Regions from separate parts of the Homo sapiens genome. Here region 1 is linked to region 2. Evidence: promoter capture Hi-C in human tissues and cell types (Jung and others, 2019). All regions are on one chromosome and are shown on one strand. Each heading gives the region's core, a stretch centred on a gene start or on the middle of the fragment in contact. The rest is flanking DNA. Distances are from core to core; before and after follow the strand shown.

Region 1 (5,582 bases), core at 1,907-4,406, 460 kb before region 2:
GTTGGGCAGAAAGAGCAAAGCCTCTCAAGTCTGATGGGTTTGGGTTTGAGTCTGACAGTTATTAGCTATGTGGTGACCTTGGGTACTTTGCTTCAACTTATTGAGCCCCAGTTTCTGCATCTGTAAAATGAGGATGAAACTACCTACTTCATAGAAATCAACCCAAGTGGCCGGGCACGGTGGCTCATGCCTATAATCCCAGCACTTTGGGAGGCCAAGGTGGATGGATCACCTGAGGTCAAGAGTTTGAGACCAGCCTGACCAATATGGTGAAACCTCGGCTCTACTAAAAATATAAAAATTAGCCGGGCATGGTAGCGGGCGCCTGTAATTTCAGCTACTCAGGAGGCTGAGACAGGAGAATTGCTTGAACCTGGGAGCCAGAGCTTGCCGTGAGCCAAGATCGCACCATTGTACTCCAGCCTGGGCAACAGAGTGAGACTCTGTCTCAAAAAAAAAAAAAATCAACGCAAGTGAGATAAGATGTATCAAGTACTTTGCCAGTATCGATCATAATACATAGTAGATGCTTAGTAAACGCTCATTTTTCCTTTCCAAGGGGAAATTTGGCAGATGATGTCCGTCGACTCCAATAGGTGATCCCCTTCCCATCCCGACACACTTGCTCACAGAGCATTCTCCTTTGGAGAGTCTCAGTTGATATAGGAAAAGGATCTACTTCAACACACACAGAGAACATACAGACATGCCACTTGTTGATGTAAGGCTTGGCAGGCTATTGAAAGAGAAACAATTCATATTCTTAGGCGGTTCTGCCCTCCCCCATCACCTTCTCTATCATTATTCTTAAAAATTTGTTTGGTCGACTAAAAATAATAGTACTAAAAACAAACTTCGATGAATCAGGTCTCCTGGGGCGGGGGATGGGTAAGATCCTGAAGCAGAAACGCAGTGACTCACGCGCCTGTCACTGATAGCTGCCCGTAAGTGCATGGAAGTGCATGATGTTTATTGTTGCTGGTGTTTTTTTGAGGCCCAAGTTGGAATGCACTTCCGGCTCCCCCTCAAGTACTAGCTTACTGGTTAGGTGGGCTGTTGAGTGAGAATGGTCAGGTCCAGAAACTCATGGCTCTGAAATGACCCAGACGTGGTGGCTATACCCTTGACTGCCCTCAGATACGTGCAAGAGGGAGCTCACGCTTCAAGAGTCATGCTTTGGCCCTCCACCTGGCTGTGCTCCTCTTACTGGGGCAAGGAGACTGTAGGGCCAAGGGACAGGCCCATCTAGAGCAAGCACTTCCTTTTTCCAGATCATGCTCAGAGGCCTGACCCTTCCAGTTCCCTGCATCAGTGTCTTGAGCCTGTTTCCAAGTCCTGCGTGGGCCTCTTCCCCAGGTCTGTTTTACTTGAGGGCAGACTGTGTTGGCCATGGACAGCATGTGTACCTGTGGGACCAATGGCTGGGCAAGGGGTGCAGGGGCATGAAGGAATTGGCTAGAGCTTGGACTTGTGGCCTGGGGACTCTACTTGGGTGTGCACAAGGCCTCTGAAAGTTATGGGTGGTGCTAGGGGTGGGCTGAGATCTTGGGCTGGGTCTCTCTGAGCTTCCACATTCCATTGTGAAACCAAGAGGTCAGGGAATCCTAAACTCAAACCTGGACTTATTAAAGTATTGGTCAAGGCAGGATGATAGAACGCATTCTGTGTAACCGTTTGTTACCTTGATTTGTCTTTAAATACTACATATGGTGTGTAGGCCTTCCTCTGTATTTTTGCTCTTAGGGCAGGCATTTCTGTATGTATGTATGTATGTACGTATGTATGTATGTATGTATTTATTTTTGTAGCATCCGCTCAGTTGCGTGGCCACAACTGAATCCCAGTCCAGGTGGCACCATTATATGGGTAGCATTTTGGAGATGTTCACAGGAATTGATTTCCCTCACCCTCAACCCAGGCCAGAGTGAATTTAATGCAGATGAGGGAGAAGGTGCTACATATTATAGCTGCTCATTCAAAAAGTGGAGCAGAGAGCTGGACCACTGAATGTGCCTTTGTTTGCTGGAAATCTTTATTAAGTACCAGAGATATAGAGATGAAGTTGTGTCTCTGAACTGCTCAGAGGCAAAAAAGGGACACCAGTAACCACAGTTATGGTGGGCCTGTGGAAGAGACACTATAGTGAAGGTCAAACAAAATATTTGGGAGCCTAGAGGAAGAACAGGTCTATTTCTGGAGGTATCAGAAGGCTTCACAGAGGAGGCAATACTCAATTGGGGCCTTGAAGGATGGATAGGAGTGTAGGAGTGGAGTGGGAGGCAGCACAGAGCACAGACCAGACTGCGGAAGGGCCTGACATCTAGGGAAGGCAAGACAGTTTAGGGTGGCCAGAGTGTGGATGAGGGAGTGGCCAGAGAGGAGTTGGAGAAGGATGTTGTCAAGGGCTTTGGCTTGCCAAACTTCGTACTTTGTGTTTGGACCTTGCTCTGTAAGTGTCCAGGAGATTTTAAAGCAGGGGAGTGGCACGGTGAAAGCCACCACTCTATCGTTTCTTGTTTCATTTCCTCCTCTTACCCAGTGGCTGTTAACAGCAGGTTTTCTGCCCGAGTTATCCAGGTCAGAGTCATAATCCCTTACAGTACCATGTGGACAGCTTTAGGCTATGTCTGGAGCAGGTTGAAGATAGTGTTTTGTTCACTGTCAGGAGAGAAGACATGTTGTTCAGCCAGGAGGGCTCAGGGACCCCAGGCGTTCAGGTAATTAGCCAGTGAGTCATGTCAGGCTTTTGATATGGATACCTTGGGAAACTAAGTGGGGTGTTGCTGGCCTCCATGCAGATGCCTGGTCTACCCAAGCACAGGCCCCCAAATTAGATCTCGGCCTCTGCTGGGTCTTCCCTGTGCCTGACACAGTGCCTTCATATGGACCGTCTCTGGTCAGTGTTTTCAATTTCTTTGTTGATGATCATCAATCAAGGCCAGGCTTTCCAATTCCAGACCACACTGCAATCAGTGGAAACTACCTAAATTCAGTACTGCAGACCCATAGCAGGATGTATGTTTATTGAAAACAGATTATATTCCTTAATGAGAGACTAAAACAGCATGTTTAAATCAGTATTCTTCATTCCTTTTATCATTGAGAGATTGGTTATTATTTACCTCGCCTTTAGAGGGTCAGCTTGGTGGTGGTGGTGGTGGTTTAAGTTGCTGGGTTTTTAAAAGATTGAGTTTCATGTCCAAGGACTGATTCTACTTCATGGGCTGTTTTTGAAAACATTGCTAGAAACCTCTTAACTGAAGGCAAGACCAGGGGCAGCCTATTGCTGCGGAGTGCCCTGGGTTCAAATCCCTGCTCCCCAACTTACTGCGGTGGTGACTGTGGACATGTTGTTTAACTTATTTGAGCTTCCTTTTCCTCATCAGTAAAATGGGAAAAACAATGACCTCCCTCAAGGAGGGATGTTATTGAAGTTATTTACTTAAATCAGATTAGATTTATTTTAGATTAAAAGCTTCTTGCAAGCTGTGAAATGTTTTGCAATGTCACATATTATTATTTTTTTTTTTTGAGACGGAGTTTCGCTCTTGTTGCCCAGGCTGGAGTGCAAAGGCGTGATCTTGGCTCACGGCAACCTCTGCTTCCCGGATTCAGGCTATTCTCCTGCCTCAGCCTCCCGAGTAGCTGGGATTACAGGCATGCACCACCATGCCTGGCTAATTTTGTATTTTTAGTAAAGACGGGGTTTTTCTATGTTGGTCAGGCTGGTCTCGAACTCCCGACCTCAGGTGATCTGCCCGCGTCAGCCTCCCAAATTGCTGGGATTGCAGGTGTAAGCCACCGCACCTCGCCCCCCGCATATTATTTCTTTATGGTGTAGAACTCACTAATACTGCTAAAAACCCTTTCTGACAGAGATGGGAGTTAAGGCTTCTAAGTTCACACCCAGATTTCCACAGAGACCTTAGAGACAATCATAAATATTGCACAAAATTATATTGGAATATGAGCTCGGGGCACATAGGCTCTGGTGCCTTGTACTAGAAGCTTAGGTGAGCTGTTACTCTTGGCCATGTCCAAGCATTTGACTCAGAAGATGGTCGAGTCAGCAGTGTTGACTGTTAGCAAATCACCTAAGCCCACTCACATGGGGTGATCCTGGTACGTGTTGCATGGACTGAGTGTCAACTGCATGCTGAGTGTATGCCAGAGGGGGTGATCTCCTTGATCTTATTTACTTACCTACAGTACTCTGGGTACTTATGTATTTATGTTTACAGAGGAGGAGGCTGAAGCATTGAGGGGTCAGTGGCAGAACAGGAATCTTAACTCTGGTCTCTGGTTCCTAGTTCTCTGAGCTCTACCCCATAGCCCCTCAAGAAAGGATGGCCATTGTTGTCCTCATACAAAAAGCTATGACACTGCTATCATTATTCTCATTTGGTAAATGACAGAAACAAGGTTCAGATTACTTAGGTAAGTTGCTTTAAGTCTCAGGCTAAGGGCTGGAGCTGGATTTGCCACTGAAGCTCTACACCTTCTAGAATCTAGGGTGACTACATAATTTATCAAACAAACCAGGATGTTTCCAAGAGTGAAAAGGGGCAGCATTATTAATTATGGCCACTATTAATTACGGTCCTTGGCCATAAATCAGGACCGTCCAGGCAAACCTGGGTAATAGTCACCCTGCCTCTGGTCTTGATACCTGACCAAGGTAATGGAGAATTGGATCCGCCAGCTCATGTGCTGTTGCTTAAGTGGAAGGGAATGTGCAAATTATGTCCTGCTATTCTAAGTGAAAGGACTTGCCCAAGGTCATGCAACAAGTTGGCAATGTAATATTTTAAAACTGGACGAGATGTTGAAAACATGGTAAAGTTAGCACTAGAGCTTAATTAACTGGAGTATGAGTTAGGGAACATTTGGCTATGCTGATGTCTACTACTGAAGGGAAAGGAGGTGGAGGTCAAGGTCAGGTGTGTATGGAGCAGGTGGGGGTGGCAGTGGCAGGGCATTCACGTGGCTCTACTATGTCGGCACCATCATCAGGCCCTGTCCCTTTGAAGTCCGGGAGATGCCACTAGGCCCAGTGCAACTTGGATGATATTTAATGGCCAAGAGCAGAGACTTCTGGGACCTGACTTTTCCTGCTCTCCACTTTACTTTAGCTCTGGGCTTCAAAGGGACTATTGGCTGGGAGTGGTGAAAGTTTAGTGGATAATCCTGCTGAAGAATTTTGGAAGGCCTTGAGGAAGGAATTAAAAATAACAGTAAGCATGCCTTTTCTTTCTCTTTGATTGTGGTCAGTGCATGGAATGTGCCAGGGCCGCTGCGGAGCAAGCACGTGGCCCCGAATAACCCCTCCCTGCCAACGGAATTCTGCAGAGAACATGTAAGGGCTGTGCTGTTTCACTCCTGCTTTGGGCTCTCAGGGTTTGTTTCCGCGATCATCCAAACCTCATCCTCCTTCTCTTGCCCCAGATAATTTATTGGAAGTCTGGAGAGGGACTTGAGTTCTCTCAACTCTCCAACCAGACTGTTGCTGTGGGCGAGGCCATGTCGGGTGAGCTCCAAGGAGAGCAGTTGGAATGACAGAGAGGAACGGTTTCAGCCTGAGA
Region 2 (5,609 bases), core at 76-2,575:
AATTCAACCCCAGAAAGTAAAGCCAATTCGTGCACCTTCATAAGAAAGAAATAAAGGACGAACCTACACATTACAATTTGTAAAGAAACTTCTGTAGAGGCACCATCGTTCTACAACCTTATGCACTTTAAAATCTGAGGTAACAAGGCATTTGAAGATAACCAAGGTTGGCCGGGCGCGGTGGCTCACACCTGTAATCCCCCCAGCACTTTGGGAGGCTGAGGTGGGCGGATCACGAGGTCAGGAGTTTGAGACCAGCCTGGCCAACATAGTGAAACCCAGTCTCTACTGAAAATACAAAAATGAGCGGGCACGGATGGCGCACGCCTGTAGTCCCAGTTACTCGGCAGGGGTTGGGGGCTGGTGGGGGTGGTAGTGCTGAGGCAGGAGAATCGCTTGAATCCGGGAGGCTGAGGTTGTGGTGAGTAGAGGTCGCGCCGTTGCACTCCAGCCTGGGCGACGGAGCGAGACTCCGTCTCAAAAAAAAAAAAAAAAAAGATAACCAAGGTTTATTGCTACTTCCGTGATATCACCATATCACCAACTGCGTAAGCAGTGCTATTTAGTTGAAAATACATGGACTAGACCGAATATTTCTGCAACAGTTTAATAAGAGACGATGATGCGACTACTGCAGCTGTCCCCAGGCAATTAAACTCTTCGGCGAATTTCTTTACTATTGCTTTTGAACAGGGAACTGTTTGCTATTTTAGGGCACTCGTGCGGTAAAGAACTTCACTGAAAAATGCAAATATGTTTTGCTAATGTGGGAGAAAGATGATGATCCTCTGAACCTGTGACTTGGAAGGGGGGATAAAAAAGAACTATTTCTTGAATTCTTGCCTTGCTCTTGCTGATTCGATGCACACAACCCCACGAACATTCAGATTCATGGCTTGACAAAGTGGGGATAACCGGGAGCTGCAGCCCCGTCTTTGAAGCTTTTGTAAAGACAAACGGTCTGCAATGTTAAGCCTTAAATTGGCTTTTGGCGGACTCCAGCCTTTTACCCTTCGTTTGGTAGATGTTTTCACCTCGCTGTCATTAAGCAGGGTCAGGAAATGGAAGGGCCGTGACCGGGTCGCCGCGGGCGCTCTGTGGGCGATGAGGGTCTCCTGAGCGAGCAAGACCAGTCTCTCCCCGACTCGCCACGCGCCACGCGCCGCGCGCCGCGCGCCGGTTCCTCGGCTTCCCACGCCGGGGGCGCATCCTCCCGGGAGCTGCTGCCCTTTTCCAACATGGCGCCGCGGGAGGCGGGTCCCGCTCGTCGGCTCCCGGGGTTCCGGCGCCGCGCGTTTTGGTTCCGGAGTAACAGTGTCGCCGCCGCCTTCCTCCTCCTCCTCTCGCCGCTACCGCCGTCGCCGCCGCCGCAGCCGCCGCCAGTCCGCGCGGCCTCGGGTGGCCGGAGCTCAGCCTGCGCGCGCCGCGCCCTGTGTCTCCGGGTGGGGCAGAAGACTCGCCCCTTGAACCTCCCGCGGGGACTCTCCGTGGTGTGGCGGCCCTGGGGCTCTTTCTTAATAGCCCCGGACTGAGTCCCCTCCAGTCGAGGACCCTCTCCTAGTCCACTGACGAGCGGTGGACACCTGCCGCTGTATCTCCCCCAAACCGAGTCCTTGCCCTGCTGCCTCCTCATACCCACACGGCGGCAGAGACCTTCACCATAGCGTTCGCTCAACTCCAGAACCTTCCGACCTCCGCTAGTTCCTGCGGGCCTTTGCCCGCTTCCCGGTGCACCCTCCCCGGGAGACACCTCAGACCCCCGACAGCCTGGGCAGGCTCGGTGCCTGCGGGTGCGTTCCTGATCACCCCTCCCCTCTTCCCTCCCCCTCATCCTCCATTCCCTTGTTTTCACCCTCTGTCCTCTGCCCGTCACTCCCCTTGTCACCTCTTGGAGCCCCCTCCTAACCAGCGGCCAGTGGGTTTCCCATACCCCAGGATGTGAGCCTCTTTAACCTGTAATGCTGTGGCTAGCCCTTGGCCCCTTTCCTGCCATGGAGAACCAGGTGCTGGTAATTCGCATCAAGATCCCAAATAGTGGCGCGGTGGACTGGACAGTGCACTCCGGGCCGCAGTTACTCTTCAGGGATGTGCTGGTGAGTGGTAATCTCAGTGTCCGGATGCCAGCAAGGGGGACTCAGGGACTTGAGTAGTCAGCACCTTGACCACTGGTGACCTGAGCCAGTGGCAATGGCTACTGCTGGCTTCCTGTGGAGGCAGTTTTATTGCTTCAGGCACAGCATTGATAAATTGCAACCACTAAAACCTGGCAAATGTCTAGGACCCTGGGGAGATAGATCAATCTGACTGAACCCCTGCCCTCAGAGAGCTCATGGCCCGGGCTGGGACACACATATAGACACAACCACGCAAATGCAAACTGCTGAATCTAGAAGAGAGGTTTTTTCCCCCCAAGTGTTTCGGGGAATGTCCTTGGACAGATTCCAGCCTTGTTTTTCTACTGAGTTCTCTGAACTTGGTGACCAGCTGAGAAAGGGAAAAAGGACAACTTTAACTTACCATGTTTGAGCACACTGTTTCATTAATTTATTTTGAGACAGGGCCTCACTCTGTCGCTCAGGCTGCAGTGCTGTGGCACGATCTCGGCTCACTGCAGCCTCTGCCTCCTGGGCTCAAGCGATTCTCCTACCTCAGCCTCCCAAGTAGCTGGCACATGCCATCACACCTGGATAATTTTTGTATCTTGTAGAGACGAGGTATTGCCATGTTGCCCAGGCTGGTCTTGAACTCCTGCGATTTGCTTGCCTCGGCCTTCCCAAAGTGCTGAGATTACAGGTGTGAGTTACTGTGCCCAGCCTGAGCAAACTTAAAGCATCATTGAATGTAAGACATTTTACTTAGAAAAAAATGCTAACCATGACAGTATGACACATCATCCGTTATTAAAATGAGTCCAGTTTCAGAGACGGTAAAAGTAAGGGAAAATGTGCATCTTAGAATTGGTGATATTTTACATTCAGATTTTTCAGAATATATTTCAAATAAAATGATGGAATTTTAGAGCAGAGTGTAACACTGTAGGTGGCCTGTTCAGCTGATGTTTCTTTTTTGCAGATAGTTACTGAGGAGCAGTGAGGTGAAATGGCTTTTCCAAAGCTGTGAGCTCCTGAGTGGGAGAGTCAGTACCAGAACTAAAATTTTGTTTCATTGACTTAGTAGGTTTCTTTCCCTACATGTTGCAGCCGCTTCTAATCTTTCTGGTATTCATTTGAGATAGACAGGGTGCCTTGTGCCCATTCTACATGCAGAATAACTGAGGCATGGAAGACAGAAGCGGACATTCCGAAAAGCACATCACTACCTGCAAGTTAAGAGTGGGCAAGGTGGCAGGATCTTGGGAAGAGGAAGATTTGTGATGTGATTTTTCATTGTCTTGGGTAACTTAATCAAAATTTGATTTCTATAACTTCATTTTGAGTTCTAGATGTTACTGACTGCCCAGGCCATGCAGATTTTTGGGTGCCTTGACCAGGAGCTTTCCATATTGTGCATCAAATGCCATCCTTCTCTTTGTATCCGGAGTTCTCCACACAGTCATGCACATACAGATTTCCCCTCATGATAAGGCCCAGGCTCCTTCATGTGGTCCTCTGGGCACATCTGGATTGGCCCCTGTCTGCCTGGCACCTGTGTCATCTCTCTTCACGGCCCCATAAACTTCTGTGCCTCACTTACATAGGTTGATTTTCATTTCTCCCAGGTGTCCAGGCTGTCTGCACTCTGCTCTTCACCGGTCAATTCCCACCTGTCCTTCCAAGCCAAGTTGTGCTTTTTCTCTGTGTCATTCTTGGTTATGTGCCCCACCTCTGTGTCGTCACAGCTTTGTGTGGGTCCCCCAGCAAAGCACATGTTTGATCATGATTCTTTGTCTCCTCCACTAGATGGTAAACTTCTGGAGGAGATAGATATGTTTGTTTTTGTTTCTTCATAGGACCCCAAAATACTTGTTTAAGAAGGGAGCTTAAAAGAGGATGCATGCAATTATGGTTCTGTGGACAGAACACTAGGTTTAGAGTCAAGGAATTTGGGTTTAATTGCAAGCTGTCCCACTGACTAGGCAAGTCAGTCTACCTCTCTGAGCCTTAGTTTCCTTATTTGTAAAACAGGGAAACTTGTACCTTCCTCAAAGACTTGGAAAGATTATGTGAGATTGTGACTGTGATGAGAAAGATGGGTTTTCTCTTACTCATTTAAAACAATGGAAGGTTGATTATTATGTGATTATATTATTTGGTTATGTGATTATTTCAAGAATAGCCCAGTGTTTAAGACCACAAACTCTGGAGCCAGGTTGTTTAACTTGCAAGTTGTACTACTGGGGCAAGTATCTTCTGTATCTCAGTTTCTTTATTTGTGAAAAAAAAGTTGGGGAGGGGTGAAAGTAATGCCTACCTCCTAGAGTTCTGAGGACTCCTTGAGTTGATACATGTAAAGCACTCAGAACAACTTAGCACATAGTAAGCGCTCCATTAGTGTTGTTATTATTGATGGGATTGTTATTATAAGGGATTGGACTTGGGTCTTCTGTTTCTTGAGCATCTCTAAGTTGTACCTGGCTCAAGGCTGACTGGCTTAACAGGAAACACGAGTGGCCCCACCACTAGAGCTCAGCATGCCAGGTGTCTGCACACTTTTGGCTAGGTAAGCCCAGGTGGAGCATGTTTTGTCAGAAAGGCCTGACGAAGGACCTGTGGCAGTGGGTGTTCAGTGCTATCTCCTAGTGCTCCATTTTAGCAAATGTTCAAGCCCAGATCATGGCAGACTCCTGTGATCTGTTCTCCAGGTTTACTTCATCTCTTCATCAAGAAAAGGCAAGAACCAAGAGACACGTCAGCATCTCTGGCTTGGAACCTTAAACTTTAAAGTCACGTGGAACCTGGAAGAATCCCCTCATCTAATTCAGACTCATTTCGAATGAAGAGGCATGAACCCCACAGGGGGAAAATACCTTGCTAAAGCCACCCAGCTAATTTTTGGCAGAACCTGACACAGATGCCAGAAGCAGGTTGTAGTCACCGAGTCAGCCATAACTGAGTGTCTCGGACCTGAAGTCAGCAGTTGAGGGCTCCAGTCACTGTGCATCAAATAGCTGGGAGACCCTGGGCAAGTCAGTCGGTCTCTCTGGGCCTTGTCTTTTGTCTGAATCATCAGGGACTGGCTGAACTATGGAGGCTGACCTGACCCTCAAAGGTAGAGACATTTGGGTCTTCTGTTTTGCAGCTTTCTGTGTTTCTCTTTTTCCCTGGAGACTGAGTTCCTAGTTTTGGGAAAACTATACAAGAGGTCTGGTTAGTGTGTGATGAGAGAGAATGCCCAACCCTCTCCCCTCTTCTTTTTGTATTCTGTGGTCTCCAAGCTCAGATTTCCCCTCATCTATAAGACTTCTGGGCCAGGAGTGGTGGCTTAGGCCTGTAATGCCAACACTTTGGGAGGCCGAGGTGGGTAGATCGCTTAAACTCAGGAGTTCGAGACCAGCCTGGGCAACATGGCAAAACCCCATCTCTACAAAAAATGCAAAAATTAGTGGGGGCTTGGTGACACTCACCTGTGGTCCCAGCTATTAGGGAGGCTGAGGTGGGAGAATCTCTTGA

What was found. The method cuts DNA at HindIII sites, captures the fragments that hold promoters and counts their contacts. A contact is called where the count stands out against the background at its distance.
Region 1: a contact is called between a fragment that was not itself captured here and the fragment with the promoter of MAP2K5 in region 2, in 1 of the 25 tissues and cell types used here (dorsolateral prefrontal cortex).

Annotation. Positions count from the first base shown.
Region 1 is chr15:67,075,465-67,081,046 of GRCh38, forward strand. The region is part of intron 1 of SMAD3 (SMAD family member 3); the gene reads left to right. Among named protein-coding and RNA genes, the nearest start is that of SMAD3, 13 kb to the left of the region's middle. The HindIII fragment of the contact is 3,879 bases long and covers 1,218-5,096 here.
Region 2 is chr15:67,541,378-67,546,986 of GRCh38, forward strand. MAP2K5 (mitogen-activated protein kinase kinase 5) reads left to right here and starts at 1,326. Exons shown (of 22, transcript NM_145160.3): 1 at 1,326-2,093. The coding sequence starts at 1,959. It overlaps MAP2K5-DT (MAP2K5 divergent transcript), which reads right to left and starts at 1,253. Exons shown (of 1, transcript NR_186334.1): 1 at 1-1,253. RefSeq lists enhancers at 266-766, 419-468 and a silencer at 1,342-1,461. The HindIII fragment of the contact is 7,088 bases long and covers 234-5,609 here.